2 separate regions of the Homo sapiens genome follow, and region 1 is linked to region 2. Evidence: promoter capture Hi-C in human tissues and cell types (Jung and others, 2019). All regions are on one chromosome and are shown on one strand. The core of a region is centred on a gene start or on the middle of the fragment in contact, and the rest is flanking DNA. Distances in the headings are between cores, read along the strand shown.

Region 1 (6,636 bases), core at 1,409-3,908, 150 kb after region 2:
TATCTCTCATCTGTCACCGGAATACAGAGTAACAAAACCTATAAGACTCTCAAAAGAAACAAACTGTACATCAAAATTGTATATCCAGCCATGTTGTCCTTCAGCCATAAAGGCTATAAACAAATAGTTTTGAATTTTCAAAACTCAGCATTTATTGTTCATATAACTCTTTCCTGAAAAACTTGTAATGACTTTTTTTACTTTTTTTCTTTTTCTTTTTACTTTTTTACTTTTTCTTTTTCTTTTTACTTTTTTAAGGTGGTGTTTTAAATATTTTAAATTCCCATGTGGCTCACATTTGTGACTTGCATTACATTTCTTTTGGACAGCATTAATATAAGACAGCACCATGTACAATTAATAAATATAACTGTGCAAGACAAAAAAAATTCTGTTAGACAAAAACAAATAACAAATTCAGGAAAATATAGTTTCAGACCATATCACAGACAAGGGTTTATTACCTTGATATAAAAAGAGTTCCTAGAAATTGAGAGGAATTGAAAAATAATCCTAAAGTTAAAATGGGTAAAAGGTATAGACATTGAGAAAAAATATGGCCCCTAACAACCTAAGCATAATGTATTAATTATCACTTATAATGATGGAAATACAAATAAATTTACATTGTGAATTCATATATTATAATTTAGGTAGACACAATTCAAGAGTGACTGTACACTTTGTTGTTGATGTATGTGGAAAAACATATATTGCCTCACACATTGCAGATGAGAAGAACAATTTGGCAATATTTATCTAAATTACAAACACATTTACCCTTTGACCAAAGAATTCCCATAACTATCTTACAGGTATACCTTCACACATATTAAAACGTATCTGTACAAAGTTATTGCATCAATGTTTGTATTAAAACCTATTAGAAAACAGTTCAAGAGTTCACCAACAGGGGACTTATAAAATAAATTATGGTACATTTACTTGTTCAATGAAATACAAGTCATCTGTAAAAGAAAGAAGTTCTTTGTACACTGATATGAACAGATCTACCAGACTAATTAAGACCAAGGTGCAGAGAAGTCTATATGGTATATATTTTTGTTTGAGAAAGAGAAGAAAATAAGAATTATATAAGCTCGTATTTGTAAAAGAAACACAGAAAAGATATACAGACGGTAATAAAAGTACTTACTTGTACACGTCAGGGGAGTGGTGAGAGTGCACCTCAAAGACAAGCAGCAAGGAAGCCAGTGTGGAGTGGAGAAACAAAGGAGGAGGATAATAAGAGATGAGATCAGCAAGATTAATAGTGGCCGCATCACATGGTGTCATGTAGGTCCTAAAGAGGAAATTAGCTTTTAAAGTAAGATGCAATTCCATTAGAGAATTTTAAGCTAAGGCATGACATGATCTACCTTGTAGGTTAAAAGAAGCATTTTATGTGCTACATTGATAATGGATTGTAAAAGGATTAAGGGAAATAGCAGGAAACCCAATTAAGAGGCTTTTGTGGTGGTAAATGAGAGTGGCTTCGTCTAGGATGGAAGCAGTAAAAGTGGTAAAAATGGTGTATTAGTCCATTCTCACACTGCTATAAAGATACTACCTGAGACTGGGTAATATATAAACAAAGGAAGTTTAATTGACTCACAGTTCTGCATGACTGGGGAAGCCTCACGAAACTTACAATCATGACAGAAGGTGAAGAGGAAGCAAGGCAAGTCTTACCGTCTTACATGGTGGCAGGTGAGAGAAAGACCAAGAGCCAGGAAGTGCAACACTTGAAAACCATCAGCTCTCATGAAAACTCCCTCATGAGAACAGCATGGGGGAAACCTTCTCCATGATCCAATCACCTCCCATTTATCTTTCTGGGGTCTGGAGGACAGTGGCCCTCTTCTCACAGCTCCACTAGGCAATGCCTCAGTGGGGACTCTGTGAGGGGACTCCAACCCCGCATTTCCTTTCCACAGTGCCCTAACATAGGTTCTGCATGAGGCTCTACCCCTGCAGCAGACATCTGCCTTGACATCCAGGCATTTCCATACATCCTCTGAAATCTAGGCAGAGGTTCCCAAAACTCAACTCTTATTTTCTGCACACCCACAGACCCAACACCACATGGTAGCCAACAAGGCTTGGGGCTTGCATCCTCTGAAGCAATGGATGAGCTGTACCTTGTCCCCTTTTAGCCACAGCTGCAGCTGGAGCCGCTGGAACACAGGGCCCCAAGTCCCAAGGCTGCATAGAACAGCTGGGTCCTAGGCCTGGCCCATAAAACCATTTTTCCCTCCTAGGCGTCTCAGCCTGTGATAGGAGGAACTGCTGCAAAGATCTCTGACATGCCCTGGAGACATTTTCCCTATTGTTTTGGCTATCAACATTCAGTTCCTTGTTACTTATACAAATTTCTGAAGCCAGCTTGAATTTCTCCCCAGAAAAAAATGGGTTTTTCTTTTCTACCACATGGTTAGGCTGCAAATTTTCCAAACCCTTATGCTCTGCTTCCCTTTTAAATATAAGTTCCAATTTCAAACCATCTCTTTGTGAGCACCTAAAACTGAATACATTCAGAATAATCCAGGTCACATCTTGAATGCTTTGCTGCTTAGAAATTTCTTTGCCGGATACCCTAAATCATCTCTCTCAAGTTCAAAATTCCACAGATCTCTAGGGCAGGGGCAAAATGACACCAGTCTCTTTGCTAAAGCAAAATGCCACCACTCTCTGCATTTGAGCTTTCTGTTGTACATAAAAGGGTTATTTTGATTGTTTCTGTTGGTTTGTCTGAACTGGGGTAAGTTGCTCTCTTCTGTTCAAAAAGTGAGGTCAGGGATTTTTGTTTCCCTGGGTCCTAGAACAGTAGCTCCTTTGTCTAGCCCCTCCAGGGTTTACTTGACATCTTAAGGACTACAAAGGTTAGGATGAGTTCCTCTCAGTCCACAGCACCTGGAAATCTTCCAGCTACTTACATGTTTAAGAACTATAGGCTGAGATTTTGTGTCTTTTCAGAAAAATGGGTGAACTTTTCTAAGGGTAATTTAGAATTGCCGAAGCCACTTGGAGAACCTTTAACTTAGATAAAATAAGCTTATCTTAGAGGCACCTTGAAAAAAGGAGAATATGAAACCTCCCCAAAACAATGGGATACATTCTTCAATTGGTATAAAGAGGCTTCTGAAAGACAAAATGACTCTAGAATCACCTCTCTAAAAAATCCTTACAGCATGCTAATAAGAAAGTAAAGACCAAAATTCAGATTGACTGTACTGATGCAACAGAACCGCCTGTTAAATCTCTCTGCTTCTCTATATCATCTATTCCCTAATTATTCTGAAACTACTAACTGTTGATCCTTTGCTGTTTCCTCCAAACCGTTTCACCATAAAATGCCCTTTAAAATAAGACTTTCTAATGAACCTGGGGTACCAATCTCAGCAGAATTTAAACTTTTATCTCTAGCTGAACTCCAAGCCACATAATTTTCCAGACCTTAAAAGAGACTAAACTAAATTTAAACAAGAATTTTAAATTCCTTTGGGTGCTTATGATCCAGGAATCCCTGATTTATATCAATTTGTTTACGTGGTACTCAGCCCTGGAGGTATTCAAAAATGGCTTCAAGAAATGGATTGGAAGAATCCCATTAAAGATTTTGAAGATTCTGTTAAGCATGCTTCTAAGAGTAGACTAAAAAGAAACCATGTCTGAGGCTTTTTCTAAGAGAACAGATTGGTCCATGTCTTAGTCCATTTTCTGCTGCTGTAACTGAATACCTTAGACTGAGTAATTTATAAAATATAAATATTCCTAACAGTTCTAGAAGCTTGGAAGTCCAAGGTCTAGGGAGTGTACCTTGAGAGAGTCTTCTTGCTGTTGGAAACTGCAGTGTCAGGAGTTGGCACAAGGCATTACATGGTGAAGAGTTCATTAGAGATGGCCAAACTGGCTTTTATAACAAACCCACTCTTGTAATAACTAACCCACTTCCATGATAACCTATTAATCCATTAACCTATCAATCAATTCATGAGGGCAGAGCCCACATAACCCAATCACCTATTAAACCTCCTGCCTCTCAGTACTGTTTAATAGCAGGTTAAGATGAAACATGAGTTTCAGAGGGGACAAACTATATTCAAACCATAGCAAGGCCATAAACCAATCTTGCAAACAGAAAAAAGACGAATCTGCTGTGGATTATTGTTTCTGCTTAGAAAAAAATACTTAAACAGTACAAAATATTTAAACATTTTGGCCATAGTGGCCAAAATGATGAAGTGGCTATGTCAGCCCATTTTGTTAATGGGCTGCACATACAGATAAGTGACGTATGAAAGAAACATAAAGTAGAAAGCGAAGTGACTCCCATGACAGTATTACAATATTTAGCAAAACATTTTGGGAAAAACTTAGAACAAATAAAGTAACCACCAGACAAATAAATTGATGATTTTGTAATTACAGTCATTGCAGGGGCCTCAGCCTAACTTTAAAATACCTTTATCCAACAACTCTTTCAATAAAGACATTTTTCATTATTGTAAACAAATAGGACATTGGAAGAATTACCCATTAAACCCCTTAACACAGCAATCTAGACTATCAGACTGGAAACAAAAGGGAGATTCTGAACTTTCTGACTCCTATGATAACTGTCAATACTAATGGGGCTCCAAGGAATGGCAAGGTAAACCACTTCCAATAATTTCTTTAAATCAACAAACGGAAACTAAATTTTAAAAATAGAGAAATTTGTTCTGTGTAAGTAGACACTGAAGCAACTCTCTCCACTTTGAACTCCACCATGATAAATCAAGAACTTCTTCAGAATAATAAAAAAAAAAACTCAATGGTGGAAACTCTCTGAAATTCAAAGGTTTTTTTATTGGAACTCATAACTATCACCCTCTGCCCCTTCTCTGAAAATTATGCTTTTCTGTTAGGTAATAATACTGCCCTAGGTAGAGACCTGCTTTCTAAACTGAGAGGTCAAATTCAATTTTCCTTAGGAGAAACAACATTAGAAAGTCAAGATTTATTAGACACTGAAATATTATGTGTTTTCTAAACCCAAATTGTGCTGAGGAAACTACTAAATTTCATTAAAATATAGATATTATAGATGTCTCTGAAATTCCTGACACTCTATGGATATCTTCTTCTACAGATGTGAGAAAAATCAAAAGTGCTAAACCTATTAAAATTCAGATTAATCCTCCAAAATTGCTTCCTAAGTTGCCTCAATACTGTTTAAAACCTAAAGCCATAAAAGGGCTTACTCCTATAATAGAGGAGTTAATAAAAAAGGTTTGTTATTCCTTGTACCAATCCTTGCACTACTCCCATCTTATCTGTCAAAAAACTGCACAGATAAGAATGAAGACTTGTACAAGATCTTAGAGATATAAATACAATTGTTATTCCAAGATTTCCTGTAGTATCTAACCCAAACTCCCTACTGGCAAATGTACTCACTAAATCCAAATGGTTCACAGAAATGGAATAGACAAAGAGAATTGTTTACCTTTATTGTATTGTTGGAAAAATCAACAATGTATTTTGACAGTAATGCCTCAGTGATTTACCAGTTGATGAAATTTACCTTTAATCAATTCATGAGGGCAGAACCCACATAACCCAATCACCTATTAAAGGTCCTGCCTCTTCATACTTCTTACCAGTTTTACATCAGGATTTAAAAACCAACCCTGCAATTTCCCAGAAATTCCACTTGGTTTAATATGTAGATGATTTCCTTCTTTGCTCTTCATTCAAAGAGGACTCAGAAATTCATTTAATGTACAGTTGTCCCCAGTATTCCTGAGAAAGCTGTTCCAAGACCTCCCTCTGGCACCAAAATCGGAGGCTTAAGTCTCTTATATAAAATGGCATAGTATTGCCATATAATCTACACACATCCTCCTATATACTTTAAATCATCTCTAGATTACTTATAATACCTAATACAATGTAAATGCTATGTAAATAGTTGTTATATTGTATTATTTAGAGAAAAATAACAATTAAGAAGTTTGCACATGTTTACTACAGATGCAAATTTTTCTGTACATTTTTTATCTGTAGTTGGCTAAATCCATGGATGTGGAACCCAAGGATACCAAGAGCTGACTGTATTAGCTGAAACAATTAGCTTGTAAGGGTTATAAAGCCTCCCAAAATAAATTCCAACTCTTACAAGGAGTAGTACTTTCCCTCAGTCATGATTTATCTGCAAAAGGAATTTTTCTATCTCCAGAAATAATAAAAAAAAACTATCCAAAATTATCCTAAACCAGTGACTAAAAAGAAACTCAGAGTATTCCTTGAACTTTCAATATCTTGCGAGTCATGGGTTCCCAATTTTTCTTTCTTGGCCTCTTCACCCTATGAGCTGACCAAAAACAGTGCTCAGAGACCTATTCTTTGTGAAACAAACATTAAAAGGTTTTTACTGAACTTACATAGGTTTTACAAAATCCTCCCTCCTTAAGACTTCCCGGTTACTCTTCACGTTGTTTGTCCATGAATGAAACAATCAGGCTTTAAGTGTCCTTGCTTAGGAACATGGAAGAAAAAGTAGACCTTTGGCTTATTACAGCCTACAGTTGGACCCAATAGCTCAGGCATATCCAAATTGTTGAATAGCAATAGCTACAGCCACTAGAATTA
Region 2 (6,775 bases), core at 2,119-4,618:
GGTATACATCAGCAACTGAACACTTGACTGTGATCGGCTTCCCAGCCTCCAGAGGGCCACTCAAATGAATCTCTGGATCCTTAGGAAAAGCTGAAAAGGCCAAACAAATACATGGATGGGCTTTTTGCTAATGTGATATAAGGTCTCTTACCACTTTAACACAATACAAATCAAGTCTAGCGTTTTTGTTAATACAGTCTTAATACGACAGAACTGTTTGAATAGCCTTTCATGATTTGGGGTGAGTTCAAGGCACAAGAATTGGAAGCAAACATTTTTTACAACATTATTCAATTCTGATCCTGTATATATTAAGAGTTGCATGTTATTACAGTAAAAGAAAGAAGAAAAAATAATGTTTATATTGAACCTTACATGTGGCTGTCACTGTGCTATAGATTTAACATGAATGATTTCATTTTATCCTCACAATAACTCTAGGAGATAGAGATCACATTTCACAGAAAAGAAGACCTGGACTTAGTACATTTACATAACTTGTCTAAGGTCACACACCTAGTAAATGGTAAAGCTGGGATTTAAACTCAGGATTTCCATTATTGTGTTTTGCTACTACAGATTTACATTATGTTACATCACATTTTCTTATTATAGTCAGGGCAGATATATTTCCATTTTACAGATAATGACTGTAAGCCTTGGAATGTCATTGCAAAGAATAGTTATTGTCAAGATATTCTAAGAAATGAGAAGACCAACTTTAAGTAATTAGCTTCTGAAAATGGTGCCTCTGACAGGAATTCATCCACCAGAAAGATACATTTGTGCAATCTTTATGTTCTGGAACACATATTTGCCTCCTGAAATGCCTAACTCACTATCCCAACAAGTGTTCCATTGAAGCTTCTAGTACAAGGAAATACACTACTTCACGTGGCCATTGCCTCCTTTGCAAGAGTTACCTTTTTCATTATGCATTATGATGAAGTAACATATTGGTGGATTCAAAACTGTGTAGCAAAAAGAATACAAAGGTCTCAACTCTAACCACTATTACAATCAAATGCGGAAAGGAGACAGAACTGTTATACATAATGAGAAACAGACACTCTTGGAGAAAAACCTCAGGCAAGATAATTAAAACCAGAAGCGTCTTCATTTCTCTTTCTTAAATCTTCAACTATTTGGTACTAGTGGGCAAAAGACAAAGGAGCTGGAAATTCTTTCCTATGTGAAGAAACATGGTATTTTTCATTTTTCCAGCAATAATTTCTGTCCCTCATATTCTGTAAGAAATGTTCCTCTAATCCACACAGTTCGATGTCAGGTAACATAAGAACTTGCTACTTTTCCCTGTATTTACATAAGGGAAGCTTTCAAGGAGCTCGGGAGGCTGCACAGACATAAACTATGCACATACAACCAGCATAATTGAAAGCAGCCGGCCAAGCACAGTTTCTTGGGAAGCTTGAGCAACACATGCGGTTTGTTGCAGAATCAATTAAGGTTACTGGGAAAAGTTGAGCTCCGGTACAATAAAACGAAACCAAAGTAATTATAATCAAATGAGGTCTTCATGAAGACATGACCGTAAATGGGTTCAGTTTTTTAGAAAGAGAGGCCATCAGTAACAAAAGGCAAATGATTTATGTCTGGTTAGTTTTTTACTCCTCTTGCTAACTTTGTTTGCTGAATGGAGAATGGAGTGGGATGCATTTTGTCAGGCTGGTAAACTAGGGACATCCACTCACTTTCATGAGGCAAATCTAGTTCATTATATAAATATCTTTGAAGTTGAGCGGTTGAGCACCAAGGCTTCATGGCACCAAAAAAACCAAAAAAAAATCCTAAATGTGTCAACACCAAAGTCAAATGATTGAAATGTTTCCAGATATTAACAATTATGTCTAAGAAGAACACTTTTATACTAATACATATTACTAATTATAGATCTACTTAATGTTTAAACTAATTTTAAGCATCAAATTGCATAAGAATAAATGAATAGAAAATCCCTGAAGGATGGAATTCATAAATCAATCAGACACATAAGCAAGTAAACATGTAAGGATGTAATCAAATGGAAATATTTTTTAATAAAACAAAAAGAAACTTAGAAATGATCATTTTACAGCTAAGGAAACCAGAGCCCAGAGAGGTTGAGTCTTATACATGGTCACTGTGTTTGTGGCAGAGGTAGAAATAGAAGCCAAGATTTGGATTCCTGCTCTCTCTCATGTTGGCCTTAGCTGTCCCTAGCTTTCCTGATGTTGTATGTTCTTTAGCCAAGAATCTGTACATGAATATCCATTTTAAAACTTTTTTTAAAATATCATTTTTAAAAAGTGATTTTAAAGTAAAATTGAGAGAAAAACAAAGATTTTCTAAAGCACTCACAGTAGATCTCCACCTGGATTCCTTTTTCCAATTTCCTAGATTCACAAGTTGCTGTGCACAGGTAAGAGTGTTCGTTCCCAAAACTAACAGGATTCATTGTCAGCGTAGATGTGGTCCCCTCATTCGTCACCTTCCCATTCAGTGGACTATCTATCTGGGTTCTCCAAGAGAAAAATGGGGACTCACAGCCTGTGGTGCTGCAAGTCAATGAGACGGAGTCACCAATCTGAGCAAGATATCTAGATTCTGGGGTGGTCTCGATTTTAAAAGCTTGAGCTGCAAAAGCAAAAAAAGACAGAAGCAAATTTACCACTAGTTTGTCTAGTATTCTCCTCCTTCTTCTCTGTATAATGTCTAAAATATGATCAGACTGATCTCTTTCCTAAGCTGCTTCAAACTAACTGCAAGGTAGCCAAAAAGCACCGAAGTCACTGCCAAAAAAGTTTATGGAATCATCTTCAGTAGAGAGAATTCTCAGTTCCAACCTTGATGCCCATTTATCAAAGCTGTTTTGTTATTTGCTAAGTTTGACCTCATTGTCAAGTATAGGAAACTAAAGAGACAGACCGACTAGAGACAGAATCCAAATTACTCAATTGCCTTTGGAAAAAAAGATACCAAAAACATCAATTTTCAGCTCTAACTATGACAGTACAATGGTATATAGCAAAACTCAATTGCATATTAAAAGTTAGACTAAATTAACTTTTCCTACTGTTTAAAATCCTAGTGTCTTTACTTCACTACTATCGCAAAACTGACTGAAGCCAAAACCAGGGCTAAAATTGAATGCTAACATTTGAAACAGATGAAGGGAAATAACTTACAAGCTGCAAACATTATCCAAAGTATATTTGAGGCTCCAAGGATCACGACCATCTTCCCAGGCATTTTAAGTTGCTGTCGTGATGAGAAAATAGTGGTTCCAAAACCCTTATTTGTGTCCCACCTGTGTGTGCCTGGGAGGGTATTCAGCTCCTGAAGCCAGTGAGGCCCGATGCAGATACCGCGGAGTGAAATAGAAAGTCTGTGCTTTATAAAGGGTCTTGTTGCAGAGGCGGAGGGAAATCCCTTCAAGGGGAAACCCAGGGCAGAGCCAGGGAAAAAAGTTTAACAGACACCCAGCCAAGTTCCACTATTAACCCCTTCAGTTGCTCTCACTGCTGAAGCTCCTCTCTCTGTCCTGGCAAAAGAAGACACTTCCAAGACTATAAAATACAGGCTTTTCCTCATCTTCGACTCCAAAAGGCTATCTTTACTGGAAAGATAAAGGACAATGCTGATTGCAGAATGAAGCTTTCTGAATCCAATGTGGGTTAAGGGGGTGGGGAGAGAAAAAATGGAGACAGAGTAGTAAATTCTACTCTGGTTTTTGAACTGGATAAATAACGACTATGCCATGTGAATTGATTTTCTCCATCAAGGAAATATGTTTGCAATTCTAAAAGAGATTAATTTTTTTCTCTTACAAGAGAAAGGAAAAAGTTATTTCTTTTGATGAGTCATTTTTTAAAAAAGGGACACCATAACTTCTTAGTTTTATATTTATTCATAAAAATAGTTCTTTTAGCAACAAACATCAACTTTTTGAAACTATTTTCTTGAGTAGAAAGTAAAGGACTGTAACTGAAATTGCTGCCAAAACAAGGGAAACAATTTTTTTTTGTTTTAGAAAAGTTACCAATAATTTGGTTAAATTGCTGGATAATTGGAATTTTTTTGCATACTTAAATGCAAGTGTATGGAATCCATCTGAAGTGGCAAATCTCTTGGGCTGTGAGATTTAACCGCAAACCCAGTTAAAAAATTAAAAATAATAGGTTTTTATTATAGGCAAGGGGACAATAACCAACTCTATGTTCCTTTTCCCCCCAGTGAAGTGCCTTTTTAAAAAAATCCCAATTAACTAACTGGCTTAGCCTTGCACACACATAGCCCAAGGCCTTGCAAAATGCTTGCCCATCAAAAAGAAACCGGAATAGCCACTTCCTTTTATTAAACACGTGCAGGTCTATCTCCCCCATTGGATCATCAGTTCCTCTCATGGTCAGGACCAGTTCTTGTTCATTGTTGTATCTACTTCTACAATATCTAATGCATGATTTTCCACTTAGTGGATACAAAAAATGCAATAATAAACGTTATACATTTGGAGAAGAAAATTCTAAATACTAGCAATAATATGTAAATACGGCATGAAAAAACTGTTAAATTCTACAAGAAAATTCTAAAGCTCAGAGACTCAATGGGATGTGTACAATAAACTTGTACTATATAACATTTGTACTCTGTAACAAAGGCCATAGCTGAGGTCTGGAATCTATAACTGTCCCTACCTGGTTGGAGAGGCTTCTGGATCTCCTCTTGGATACTGATGTGGCTCCCACTAAAAGACAAGGAGGGAAAAATAAGTTGGAGATGCTGTTCTAGGGTGTGGGGATATATAGGTATGACTTCACCTACCAAATATCTAGGGATCAGAAAAATTGATTCAGGAAATACTAGCTTATAAACAAGTAACCCAGAGGTCCTTTACAGTGTTTGTGTCATCATCATGTAAATTCACTACTTAACTTCAGAATAGATCAAAAGGGTATTATGGAGTTTTAATATGTTCCTTTGAGGCTCAAAGACAATGGCCAATAGGATCCTTGGGATCATTATGACCAAGCTATGTTGTTCTGAGTTTGGATATGATTCGAAGCTTGCAACATTGGAGAAATGCCTAATCTATTCATTTAACTCATAGTGGTCTTGGCAAATGTTTGATCAAGTCCCTCACTATATCTTTGAGTTGGATGACATCTGAAGTCCTACCTGCTCCTCCCAGGTTGAGAGGATTGCACCCTCCTCGGTGGCCTCACTACAACAAGTGCATATTGATGGAGCATTTATCATTCTGCATTTACTGATTAATATGCCTATATTTTCTACTTTGCTAACTCATATGGTTTCATTTTTTCATCTCAGCATTTAGCTTAAAATAAAGCATTTATTAAAATTTGCAGAATTAATGAATGATCAGAGTTGCAAGTATAAGGTTAACAGATTTAGACTAACCTGTCTGAATAAAGTACTACTGAGTTTTGTCTTTGAACTTGTTCGGTTTAACCTTTTTATTAGTAGCATAAAGCACATAATATGGTTTGGCCTTGTCCCCACTGAAATATCATTTTGAATTCCCATGTGTTGTGGGAGGGACCCTGTGGGAGGTAACTGAATCATGGAGGCAAATCTTTCCCGTGCTGTTCTCATGATCGTGAGTAAGTCTCACAAGAGCTGACGGTTTTAAAAAGAGCAGTTCCCCATACAGAAGCTCTCTCTCTTTGCCTGCCACCATCCATGTAAGACGTGACTTGCTCCTCCTTGCCTTCCACCATGACTGTGAGGCTTCCCCAGCCAGGTGGAACTATAAGTCCATTAAACCTCTTTTTCTTCCTGGTTTTGGGTATGTCTTTATCAGCGTGTGAAAACAAACTAATACAGCACGTGATTATCTAACCTATTAATAATGCAAAACTGGGAAAGACAACCTTAGAGATGAGAGAAGCAAGATAAAGAAGACCTCAAGGTATGTAATAATATTCCAGATGACGAAGTAAAATTTAATAGGAATGCATTAAAGGTCAGCATTTAAATGTTTCCAATGTTTGAGTACAGTATGGGAGAGATCTGACTTGGTCACAATTCACAGAAAGAAGGTCTTGTGATTTTACGAACCATAAAAATGAACACTGCCATGAGAAATCAAAATAGCTGTGATGAGTCCAGGTTGCACTCCTAGTAATTCAACCTTCAAGTCTTCTGAGGCCACAGTCTCTGAGCACTACACACCCACCAGATCATACTGGGAGCCTGGGTGTCTAATTCAGAATGCCACTCCTTAAGAAAGATGCTGACGAAATTAAGGGTGTCCAGAGAAAAGTAATAGCTCCTATGTTGAAGAAAAAGGACATATTTTGTCTAGAGAAGAGGCACCCATGAAGCAATGTGATAACTGAATGATTAATGCACAGGGGAAGGAATTTACTTATTACTCTGTGCTATACCAAAAGCTAAAAGTACAACTCATATGTAGGCAATTACCAGATTATTAGCTCTAGAGGAACCAAGAATGTCTATGTCTTGTTCACCATTAGTGCTTCAGCACTTTTAACATAGTAACCAGTAGATACTAGGAGCTCAGTAAATCCCTACTGATTGAATATATAACAATTTAAAGGAGATCTGGACTCAGAGTCTAATAGTCTTGTCTTCAAGTCCAGGTATTCTACCTAGGAATTGTGAAACCTTGTACAACTATATGTAGCCTCTCAGAGCAGATTTACAAATGCTCAGATAGTATTATTTCAAGTGATTCATATCATTTTATGACTATCAATCAACACTGATCATATGAAATCTCTTAAAATAAATA

The links. Contacts are between HindIII fragments. The study calls those that stand out against the background at their distance.
Region 1: a fragment that was not itself captured here is called in contact with the fragment with the promoter of VCAM1 in region 2 in 3 of the 25 tissues and cell types used here (H1 embryonic stem cells, mesenchymal stem cells and mesendoderm cells).

What each region holds. Positions count from the first base shown.
Region 1 is chr1:100,560,776-100,567,411 of GRCh38, reverse strand. No RefSeq gene overlaps it. Among named protein-coding and RNA genes, the nearest start is that of GPR88, 26 kb to the right of the region's middle. The HindIII fragment of the contact is 5,988 bases long and covers 1-5,652 here.
Region 2 is chr1:100,716,335-100,723,109 of GRCh38, reverse strand. VCAM1 (vascular cell adhesion molecule 1) reads right to left here and starts at 3,368. Exons shown (of 9, transcript NM_001078.4): 1 at 3,186-3,368; 2 at 2,359-2,634; 3 at 1-90. The coding sequence starts at 3,249. The HindIII fragment of the contact is 2,330 bases long and covers 2,029-4,358 here.